Linked DNA regions of Homo sapiens: regions 1 and 2 are each linked to region 3. Evidence: promoter capture Hi-C in 16 types of primary human blood cells and fetal thymus (Javierre and others, 2016). All regions are on one chromosome and are shown on one strand. The core of a region is centred on a gene start or on the middle of the fragment in contact, and the rest is flanking DNA. Distances in the headings are between cores, read along the strand shown. Region 1 has its middle 12 kb from the start of POU2F2-AS2. Region 2 overlaps POU2F2 (POU class 2 homeobox 2). Region 3 holds the start of MEGF8 (multiple EGF like domains 8).

Region 1 (3,672 bases), core at 803-3,302, 160 kb before region 3:
TTGAGGGCAAGGCAGGGCCTGGCTCCTTTGGGGGTCCGAAGCATTGCCCAGCACAGGGAATGACCCCAAGCCAGGGCTTGGGACAGGCCTAAGAATGATGACGCCACTTGCCCCCACAGACACAGAATGCCCACATACAACCCCACCGATAGACAGATGGAAACACTGGCACCCACAGACACATCAGTACTGGCATTTCCTGAGTGCTGGTCATGCACCAGGGGTGGGTCATTGCTCTGCAGGTGTGATCTCTCAGCATCTCACATTTGTTCGGCGAGTGTCATCCCATGACACTGCTGTGGAAAATGGAGGCTCAGACAGGTAAAGTCACTTGCTCAAGGTCACACAGCCAAGTGGGGGCACCTCTATCTGATTGGACTCCGAGGGGCATGGGACATACAGCAAACAAGATCTAACGACTATGAGCAAGAGAGGTGGATGCAAGGAGAAGGTACAGGAACTGGGCACCTAAACAGAGAACCAGGAATGGCCCACAAAGGGCCATGGGGCTCCCGGTTCTGGGGTGCTGTGTTGGGAGAGAGAGGCTTCTGTGGCCACCTGCTCCCTGGAGCAGAAGAACAGGAGGGAGTGTGTGGGCAGAGGAGGAGGCCCACGAGATGAGCCAGGGATTGATCTGACAAGGTCCTAATCAAATGGTCAATATCACTGACCTGACCACTTAACCTATTGATAAGCTGGCAAGGATGGAGCAGGCGGTGAGTGGGCTCAGGGAGGGGGGCAGCGGAAGGGATGAGGGAAGCCTGAGTGGGCAGGACATAGGCCGGCATCACGCCTGGCTCTGGGGCCTGGAAGAGGGTGGTCTCCTCCTCAAGGGCCCCTGCTGACACGGCACATGTCTTATGTCTTGGTGGCTTCCTCTACCCAGGCTTTTCTCTCCTCTCGGGATCCCTCAGTCCCTCCCTGAGGGAGGCCAGGGACTGTTGCTGGCACCCAAGTGGTCCCCGGCTCCCCTCTGACTGTGCCTTAGCTTTTCACACATGTGAGAGGCTTCACATCCAAGCCTCAATGTCTTCATTTGTAAACTGGGGATAATTATAATAGGGGAAATCAAAAACCAACCTAGATATCATATGAGTGGGGACTGGTACAATAAATGATAGTATAGTGGCCATACAAAGAAGGACTGTAGAGTTGTTGAAAACATGTTTGAAATAAATTTTTTTTTACACTTCTCTCAGCTCATACCATGAAATAAAATCATTGACAACGAAACCATGTTCATAATCTGTTGTTAGGAAGAAGAAAAGGCAAGTTATAAACAAGTATGTAGCATATCATCCCGTTTTTACAAAATACACATCCAGATGGTTCCCCCACCAAAAATAAATAAATTTGGAACAGAAATCAGAATTCTGAGTTTGGACCAGTCTGGCCAACATGGTGAAACTCCATCTCTACTAAAAATACAAATATTAGCCGGGTGTGGTGGTGCGCCTGTAATCCCAGCTACTCAGGAGGCTGAGGCAGGAGAATCTCTTGAACCCAGGAGGTGGAGGTTGCAGTGAGCTGAGATTGCGCCACTGCACTCCAGCCTGGACGACACACTGACATTCTGTCTCAAAAAAAAAAAAAAAAAGGCCAGGCATAGTGGCTCATGCCTGTAATCCCAACACTTTGGGAGGCCAAGGCAGGCGGATCACCTGAGGTCAGGAGTTTGAAACCCCATCTCTACTAAAAATACAAAAATAGTTAGCTAGGCGTGGCAGCAGACACCTGTAATCCCAGCTACTTGGGAGGCTGAGGCAGGAGAATCGCTTGAACCTGGGAGGCAGAGGTTGCAGTAAGCCGAGATCATGCCATTGCACTTCAGCTCAGGTGACAGTGCGAGACTCTGTCTCAAAAAAAAAAAAAATCTGAGTTTGGGTCCCAGGTATCTAAATTTTAATAAATTATTTGGGTAAACTCATAGCCATAATCTCCTTTGGAGAAAAAAAAAAAGCTAAGACAGTCAGGGTGCAATGGCTCACACCTGTAATCCCAGCACTTTGGGAGGCCGAGGTGGGCGGATCCCTTGAGCCCAGGAGTACAAGACCAGCCTGGGCAACATAGCAAGACTCTGTCTCTACAAAAAATACAAAAATTAGCTGGGTGTGGTGGCGCATACCTACAGTCTCAGCTACTCGGGAGGCTGAGATGGGAGGATCACTTAAGCCTCAGAGGTAGAGGCTGCAGTGAGCTGAGATCTCTCCACTGCACTCCAGCCTGGGTGACAGGCTATCTCAAAAAAAAAAAAAAAGACAGATAGCAAAAGGTAATGTCCTTTTTGTTGTTCGTTTAACTAGATTATCATGGTCATTTTCTTCTCATCTCATTGAATTTCTGTTTTCTGTTATTTCTACAATGAACATGTGTCACACCATTTGTCTGTAATTGACAGACTGTGGCTAGGTACTTAGTGGAGGCACCTCTAGTGCTGTTTCTCTGCTTCCCTCTCCCTTTCCCAGCCAGGCTTGTCTTATGTCTTCCCTTATGTCCAAACCCAGCAGAGTTCAGTGCCCTCAAGAATGTGAATGAATTTGAAGTCTGCTGAATGGAGAAGAGCTCACTCCTCTGGCTTCTGCTCTCAATAGAGTGGGCGGGGTAGTACCAAGCCAAATACAGTCCCCTGTCCCCTCTTCAGGAAACTGGCTGAGGGCTTACAGACAGGAGGAACTGCTGGAGGGAAAACGAAGACCCAGAGGGAGGGAAGGGATTTTCCCAGAGCTACTCAACTGGTCATGACACAGCTGGGACCAGAAGCTGGGGATCTGGGCTCCTGGATCAGAGTAGTGCCATCCAACTACTGGGAGGGGGACAACTGCAAGAACAAGTGTGCATGCAGACTCCTGAGATAATGTGCACTTCTGTGGGGCAGAAGAGCACAGTGGGTAAACATGGGGTCGGCCACTTCCTCACTGTGTGGCCCTGGGCAAGTCACTTCACCTCTCTGAGCCTCAGTTTGCTCAAACATAGCATGAAGATAATAATAACAGCTGCCTCATTTTGCTGGTGTGAGAAGCCAACAAGACCGTGCTTATAGGGAACTTAGCAAAAGGCCTTACACACAAAAAAGGGGCAATGAGTGGGAGAAATTAATACTATTACCATCAGCAGCCATAAATGCTGTGAGTAGTAAGTGAAGGTGGTGGGTAGGTAAGGGAGAAGGTTTGTCTTGGTAACCTGAGCAAATGAACAAATGCAATGAAGACACTCAGCTAAATATATTCCTTTGTTCATTCATTCATTCATTCAGTAAGCATTTCCTGAGGCCAATTCTAGGCCAGATCCCATGCTGGGCCCTGCAATCCAGATATGAACAATGAGAGCTCCCATTAGGTTGGTAAAGGGGAATTAAGGATGGCTGGGGATGGCCCCTTATCTCTGACAGTTGCTGCCGCAATGGCCCCCAAACTATCTCTTGGGCCTTCTGCAGAAAAGGATCGAGCACAGGAGCACAAGCTCCCCATCACCTGACTGGTGTGACACTTTGGGTATGTGTGTGCACACACTGGAATAGTAAGCTCTGTGCAGATGGACTATGTTCACTTTTGTCATTCACAGCACTGGGCACCAGGTCTCATGCTCTGGGGACACTCTATGCTCAGAGTTTTTTTTTTTCCTCCGTTTTTTAAAATGAACAACAAAAAAAAGTTCAAAGCACCTTGCACAATG
Region 2 (3,270 bases), core at 426-2,925, 220 kb before region 3:
GATTTGGCAATGTCTATCAAAATTACAACTGCACACAGCCTTCAACTCAGCCATTCTACTGCTAAAAATTTATCTATTCTCACTCTAGAAGGCTGGGAATGGCCTTCTAGAGAGGTGCAAAATGACCTCTCTAGAAGGCTATTCCCAGCAGCAAGTGGCATTCTGGCAAAAGAGTAGAAGGTAGCTGAGCATGCAGCAAGACAGGATGGGTTGGATGAATGAGGGCAGAGCTCTACAGTGGAATACTATGCAGTCACCAGCAAGAATGAGGAGTCTCTTTGTGTCCTGACATGGAACAATCTGCAGGATGTCCTGTTGAGTGGAAAGCTCAAGAGGCAGAACAGAGGGTATGAGGTGGTACTGTTTGTGTCACACACAAAAAAAGAGTATATCTGGATATTTGCTTGGGTATGCATAGTTGATGTCTGGAAAACCATACCAGAAGGCCACGCTGTAAATCCATTCATACCTCTGGGATTTGAAACATGTACCTGGTCTGAGTAAATAAATATCCCAGTGTCTCACCCCCACCCACCCAAACAGTCACTGCTGATCAACATCCCTGCTTTTCGACAGCTGAACACTATTCCCTGACCCCCTGGGGGTGCCTCTGCTTATTCCGTGTATGGCAGTGGACTGGGTACTCCTGTGCTCCTGACCTCTCTAACTCTTGCTGCTAATCATCTCAGAATCCAGCTTAAGGGTTCTGAAGTCCTAGCACTCTATCCTGTGAAACAATGTCCACCCTGCCTTCCCTTTCCCAGCTACCCCCAGCCCAGTAACACCTCCATGGTCACCTCCCTCCAGATGTGGATCAACTGTGAAGCGGGCAACACTTATGCTTCAGGGCCCCCCATTTACAGTGAACCCTTTCAAGGCCCCATACCTAATTTTTGTTTCAAACATTGTCTTTTTCTTTCAAAGGGACTCCAAGTTGCATAATCTTTTGGCCCCACAAAACGAGACCCACCTGCCCTGTGCTACACGTCTCCCAAGTCAATGCATTTGCTTATGTGTACTTTTCCTCTGCCAGACTGACTCTAGCAGACCAGAGGCATATCTTATTCTTCGTATATCCCTAACTCATATCGGAACCTGGTAAGCCCCCATTAAATGCCCACTGAATTGAATCTAATGAATAAGACTAGAAATCAAGTCTTATTACCAGCATTTTTCTGATTTCCTATAACCCTTAGCTTGTTGATTAAAGTATTTGTTAACTCCTGTTCCTCCCTAGCATGACTCTCAATGAAAATTCCCCTTTCCTCCAGAAGCCTAGAGAGGTGTCTGTGGGTTTCGTTCTGAATCACCAGCGAGAGGAAAGAATGGGGAAAGTGCATCCCAGTTTGCAGAAGGTCTCATGGTGAGAAGTTCAGATGGGAAACATTTAATCACATCCCTGTCTAGTTTCTCAGACCAGAGACTTAGGGGTCAGCCTTAATCCCACCTTCCCTTCCTCTCCCCATCCATCCAATCCATCTGCAATGCAAGTCTTCCCAGTTCCCTCTACATCTCTTCCTGTCCACAGTGACTGTCCTGGTCCAAACCACCATCCTTCTACCCCAGACCATCCATTCGCCCCCAGGCAGGCAGAGAGGGGTCTAAAACAATAGAGGTCTAAATGTTTTTGTGCCCTGAATTCTTCAGCATCTGAAAAAAAAAAAAACCTATTGCCCTCTTCTCAGAATTAAAAACACATAACATATGATATATAGGATCTTTCTTTTTTCTTTCTTTCTTTCTTTCTTTCTTTCTTTCTTTCTTTCTTTCTTTCTTTCTTCTTTCTTTCTTTTTCTTTCTTTTCTTTCTTTCCCTTCTCTCTCTCTCTTTCTTTCTTTTTTGAGATGAGATGGAGTCTCCCTCTGTCACCCTGGCTGGAGTACAGTGGCTCAGTCTTGCTTGGCTCACTGCAACCTCTGCCTCCCGGGTTCAAGCAATTATCCTGCCTCAGACTTCCAAGTAGCTGAGGCTACAGGTGCACCCACCATGCCCATGCCCAGCTAATTTTTGTATTTTTAGTAGAGAAGGGGTTTCACCATGTTGGCTAGGCTGGTCTCAAACTCCCGACCTCAGATGATCCACCCACCTCGTCCTCTCAAAGTGCTGGGGTCACAGGTGTGAGCCACCATGTCCAGCCAGATATATAGAATTTCAAATGAAATCAATCACATAATTATAGTCATCATCACTAGGGACTCCAAAGGGAGGGAGAAGGGCAAAGGCTGAAAAACTTCCTACTGGGTACTGTGTTCACTACTGGGTGACAGGAACAATTATACCCCAAACCTCAGCATCCATGCAATATAACCCTTGTAACATACCTACACATGTATCCCTGAATCTAAAATAAAAACTGGCTGGGCACAGTGGCTCATGCCTATAATCCCAGCACTTTGGGAGGCTAGATGTGAGAATCTTTTGAGCCCAGGAGTTTGAGACCAGCCTGGGCAAGATGGCAAGACCCTGTCTCTACAAAAAGAAAAAAACAAGAAGGAGGAAGAGGAGAAGGAGGAAGAGGAGGAGGAGGAGGAAGAGGAGGAGGAGGAGAAGGAGGAGGAGGAGGAGCAGGAGGAGAAGGAGAAGGAGAAGGAGGAGAAGGAAAATTAGCCAGGCATGGTGGTGCATGCCTGTGGTCCCAGCTACTCAGGATGCTGAGGTGGGAGGATCCCTTGAACCCAGGAGTTTGAGGTGGCAGTAAGCTATGATCACACCATGGCACTGCAGCCTAGGCAACAAAGGGAGACACCCGTCTCCAAAAAACAAAATAAAATAAAATAAATTAATTAAAATTTGGCTGGGTGCGGTGGCTCATGCCTGTAATCCCAGCATTTTGGAAGGCCAAGGCGGGCGAATCACTTGAGTTCAGGAGTTTGAGACCAGCCTGGCCAACATGGTGGAACCCCATCTCTACCAAAAAAATACAGAAAAAAAATTAGCCAGGTGTGGTGGCGGGCGCCTGTAGTTGCAGCTACATGGGAGGCTGAGGAAGGAGAATCACTTGAACCCAGGAGGCAGAGGTTGCAGTGAGCTGAGATCACACCACTGCACTCCAGCTCGAGCAACAGAGTGAGACTCCGTCTCAAAAAAAATTAATTAATTAAAATTTAAAAAAATATAGGCATCAAACATATTTTGAGTGGTCATAAAATCATTTATGGGTTTCTTTATTAGCACACTAAGTAACAAGATCCAGCAATAGATCTGATGACTACTGTAATTTCAAAGCAATCATGAGTGAAAACAGTGTTTTGAGAGATCTGCAACAACTAT
Region 3 (3,711 bases), core at 416-2,915:
CCTGACTGGGTTCTGGCGCTGTTGCGCACACCCCCGCAGACTCCCTGCGCCGTGCCCCCACCGCCCGCCTTCCGCGGCTCTCCCCCAGCTCCCCGGCCGCCGCCGGAGTTCGCCCCGCGCGCCCCGACGCCGCCCTTTGAGTACCTGGCCCCGCTGCCCAGGCGCCCCGCCACCCAGTCCTTCCCTGACTGACAACGTGCGTCCACACCTGGGGTGGAAGGGTTCTCCGGGGGAGGGGGACGGGCCTTCGGGGCCGCATCTGCCCCCCGAGGGTCCCGGACGGCCTCTGACCCTGACCCCCCTCCCAGGCCGGGAAGCAGGTGGAGGAGACAGCGGTGGCGGCGGCGGTGGCCCCGAGGGGCCGCGTGGTGACCATGGCCGAGCCGGGCGCAGCCTCCCCCCCACTTCCCGCTCGGTTCCCCAAGGCGGCCGACTCGGGCTGGGACGGCCCGACGCCGCCCTACCAGCCGCTCGTGCCCCAGACGGCAGCGCCGCACACCGGCTTCACCGAATACTTCAGCATGCACACGGCCGGGGGCACTGCACCCCCGGTCTGAGCACCCCTGCCCGCCCCTGCCCCATGGGCCATGACCGGGCCCCGGCCGGGCTCCGGACCCCTGCTTTATCCCGGCCCGAGAGCTCGCCCATCCCCGGCCTTCCCGACCCTTCCCACCCCGCGCGCCCAGGTTGGGTACGCTGCGTCCCGCCCCCCTCCCCTCTGTGCCAAACGGTCCCGCGGGAGCCGCTCTCCCCGTCCCCTCCCTCAGCCCCTGCCCCGAGCGGCGCCGGATTCTGGGCTCCCGCTGTTCCGTGACCTCCGGCCCCCTGGCCCCCTTCGAGACCTCTGACCCCGCTGGACTCCGGAACACCCGTGGTGACCGCCGGGACCCTGCCTGTGACTCTCCAGGACTCTGCGACCCCGGGATGGATATTGCGATGCTGGTCTCGACCCTGAAACCCTCCCTCGGATCTGTGACCTCGGACCCGTACTCCATCTGCCGCATCTCCATTCCGGGGGCCTTCCCTCGGGTCCCTGGCAGAAAGACATTTTACCCCTTCTTGCCAAAATAAAAAAGGATTCGTTTTTATCTATAACATGGCTTCTTTTGCATCTTGATGGTGTTCAGCGGCGGGGCTGAGCCAGAACTATGTCAGGCTCGGGACCTCAGTGTGTCCATCTGTGAAATGGGAATTTGGAACCGGAGGCAGGGGCCTGTATAACCTGATCTTTATGTTGCCCCAGAATGTGGGAACATTGAAGATGATCAAACATCTAGCAGGGTCTTGCACCGCTCCTTTATTTTTGCCTTCCTTTCCTCACTCAGAGGTAGAGGCGCCCTCCAGTGGCCCATGCTTTGCTGAACCACAGGCACCCAGAGTTTGGGTTACGATCTTAGCACTGCGCATATGTGTATTTCTCTCCCTCCAGGAGGACGCTGCTGCGCATGCGGTTGGGAACAAATGGGCGGGGATTTCCCCGGAAGTCTCCCTTTATGGAGGGTTGGGGTTGGGCGCTCCGCAGTCCTCCCAGGGCCGCTCTGACCGGCCGCTCTGTAACTTCTCGCCTCCTCTTCGCCGTCCCTCCCACAGCGGCTGCTCGGCTCCCGCCCCCTCGCCCTCCCACAGCGGGTCTTCCCGCGGCCGCTCTGGCCCAAGCGTCCCCTCGTCTCTCTGATCTGGCCCATCCGGCTTCGGAGGGAGGCGAGGGTGGGTGAGCAAAGGGATTGGGTCTGTGGGGTCCAGGCCCGAACCCCTGAAGACGGGCTCCGCCCCCGGCACCCGCTCGCGCCCCGCCCCCGGCTGGAGGAGTCTCTCCTGGACCATCCGAACCTAGCCTGTCCCGGCCCGCAGCCTCTATGGAGGCTCCTGCCGGGCCGTAGAGCCCTTCGCCCCCTGGGGACCCACCCGTCTATAAGGTCCGTTTGGCCTGCAGCAGCCTGAGTCCGTAATGCTGGGCACTGTTCATGGGATCGGCCCCCTATGGAGCCCTGTGTCTATAGGGGACTCCTACGGTCCCTAGGGTTCGGCCCCGTCCATAATGACTCCATATACAGGGCCTTCCATCGCTCTATAGGGCTCAGCCCTCGGCTTCCAGAGCCTGTCAGCAGTGGCCGTACCCTTCGCCGGGACTGCCGGGTCTCCGGGACCTCTTCGATCTACAAGGTCATGTTATGCCTATAGAGGTCGCATTTGCAGGGCCTCACCCCGGGTAGAGGGTCCTCTCCAGGTTTTTACGGCCTGTCCCCGCTCTAAGGGTCAGTGCAGGAGGCGGCGATGGCCCTGGGCAAGGTTCTGGCCATGGCACTGGTTTTGGCCTTGGCCGTGCTGGGGTCGCTGTCCCCTGGGGCCCGGGCGGGGGACTGCAAGGGGCAGCGGCAGGTGCTGCGGGAGGCGCCAGGCTTCGTGACGGATGGTGCGGGCAACTACAGCGTCAATGGCAACTGCGAGTGGCTCATCGAGGGTGAGTGGGGCCGCGTGGGTCACTCACTAATTCGCTGGTAGTTCATTCATGTGTGCATTCATCCACTCACCACATTCCCAGAGCTCGGTTCTGGTCCAGGCCTTTTGCTCTAAAATGCCTGACACCCAGGGTTGCAGCCAACCTGGGCCCTGCCCTGGAAGGCCTCCAAGTCTGGTGGGGGAGATGCACCTACACCCAGATTTACAATTACAAGACAGGAGCATCAGTGCCGGGCCTTCTGAGTAACTGTTAAGAACTCAGGGTCTGGGTCCAATCATTTGGCTTTGAATTTGGTTCTACTACTACTACTTTTTTTTTTTTTTTTTTTTGAGATGGGGGCCTCACTCTGTCACCCAGGCTGGAGTGCAATGGTACCAACACAATTTACTTACTGCAGCCTCGACCTCCTGGGCTCAAGTGATCCTCCCACCTCAGCCTCCCAAGTAACTGAGTGTGTAGAGACAGAGTCTCACCATGTCGCCCAGGCTAGTCCTGAACTCTTGGGCTCAAACGATCCTCGCACCTCAGCCTCCCAAAGTGTTGGGATTGTAGGTGTGAGCCACTGTGCCTGGCTTCTTATTATTAGCTTTGTGACTTTGAGCAGGTGGTTTTCTTTCTCTGAGGTTCTGTTTCCTTCCCCCACAAATGGGATAACAACAGTACTCACCTCATAGAGTTGTTGGAATGAAATGAAAACAGGTATTTAACATGCCTGATGTGTGGCATATAGTAACTGTTCAATAAATGGCATTAGGATTATTGTTGTTGTTATTTGTGAAGTACTTCAATAAAAGCATTTTTCTTCAGTCATTCATGTGCCAGACATTATGTTTCCCATTGGACATAGCCCAGACTGAGACAGCTCCAGCAATCCCTGGTGACTTAGGTCTTGGAGTCTAGTTGGGGAGACAAACACATTAATAGTGAGAGACAAGAGTGGTCTTTGATGGAGGAACCCCAGAGGCCTGGGAGAGCCCAGAGAAAGTGCCTGATCTGGGGCCGGGGAGAACAGAGAGGCTTCCTGGAGGAGGAAATGTCTAAGCTGAGACTTAAAGGACCAATAGGAATCTGTCAGGAGTGGGAGGAAAGGCCCCAGCCCTACCCTTCTGGGCTCCCAGTCAGTGGGAGAGACAAACCCACTCCGAGGCTGTTTGTTTTCCTTTTCCACCCAATAAACTCCTATGCATGCCTCAGAACCCTGCCCCAGTGGCTCTTTCTCTGTGAAGACATGTGGCTTAACCTGGGGTATA

The links. The method cuts DNA at HindIII sites, captures the fragments that hold promoters and counts their contacts. A CHiCAGO score of 5 or more calls a contact.
Region 1: a fragment that was not itself captured here is called in contact with the fragment with the promoter of MEGF8 in region 3 in 8 of 17 cell types (neutrophils, naive CD8 T cells, total B cells and 5 more); the score reaches 8.0 in neutrophils.
Region 2: a fragment that was not itself captured here is called in contact with the fragment with the promoter of MEGF8 in region 3 in 17 of 17 cell types (fetal thymus, total CD8 T cells, naive CD8 T cells and 14 more); the score reaches 23.4 in fetal thymus.

Annotation. Positions count from the first base shown.
Region 1 is chr19:42,162,712-42,166,383 of GRCh38, forward strand. It overlaps a transcript of POU2F2 not described here. Among named protein-coding and RNA genes, the nearest start is that of POU2F2-AS2, 12 kb to the left of the region's middle. RefSeq lists a silencer at 2,500-2,723. The HindIII fragment of the contact is 8,120 bases long and covers 1-3,672 here.
Region 2 is chr19:42,104,274-42,107,543 of GRCh38, forward strand. All of the region lies in intron 5 of POU2F2 (POU class 2 homeobox 2), which reads right to left. Among named protein-coding and RNA genes, the nearest start is that of POU2F2, 27 kb to the right of the region's middle. The HindIII fragment of the contact is 5,797 bases long and covers 1-3,270 here.
Region 3 is chr19:42,323,970-42,327,680 of GRCh38, forward strand. It overlaps MEGF8 (multiple EGF like domains 8), which reads left to right and starts at 1,666. Exons shown (of 42, transcript NM_001271938.2): 1 at 1,666-2,461. The coding sequence starts at 2,275. It overlaps TMEM145 (transmembrane protein 145), which reads left to right. Exons shown (of 15, transcript NM_173633.3): 15 at 768-1,095. The coding sequence ends at 848. RefSeq lists silencers at 1,592-1,781, 1,822-1,961, 2,182-2,251, 2,262-2,331. The HindIII fragment of the contact is 9,695 bases long and covers 1-3,711 here.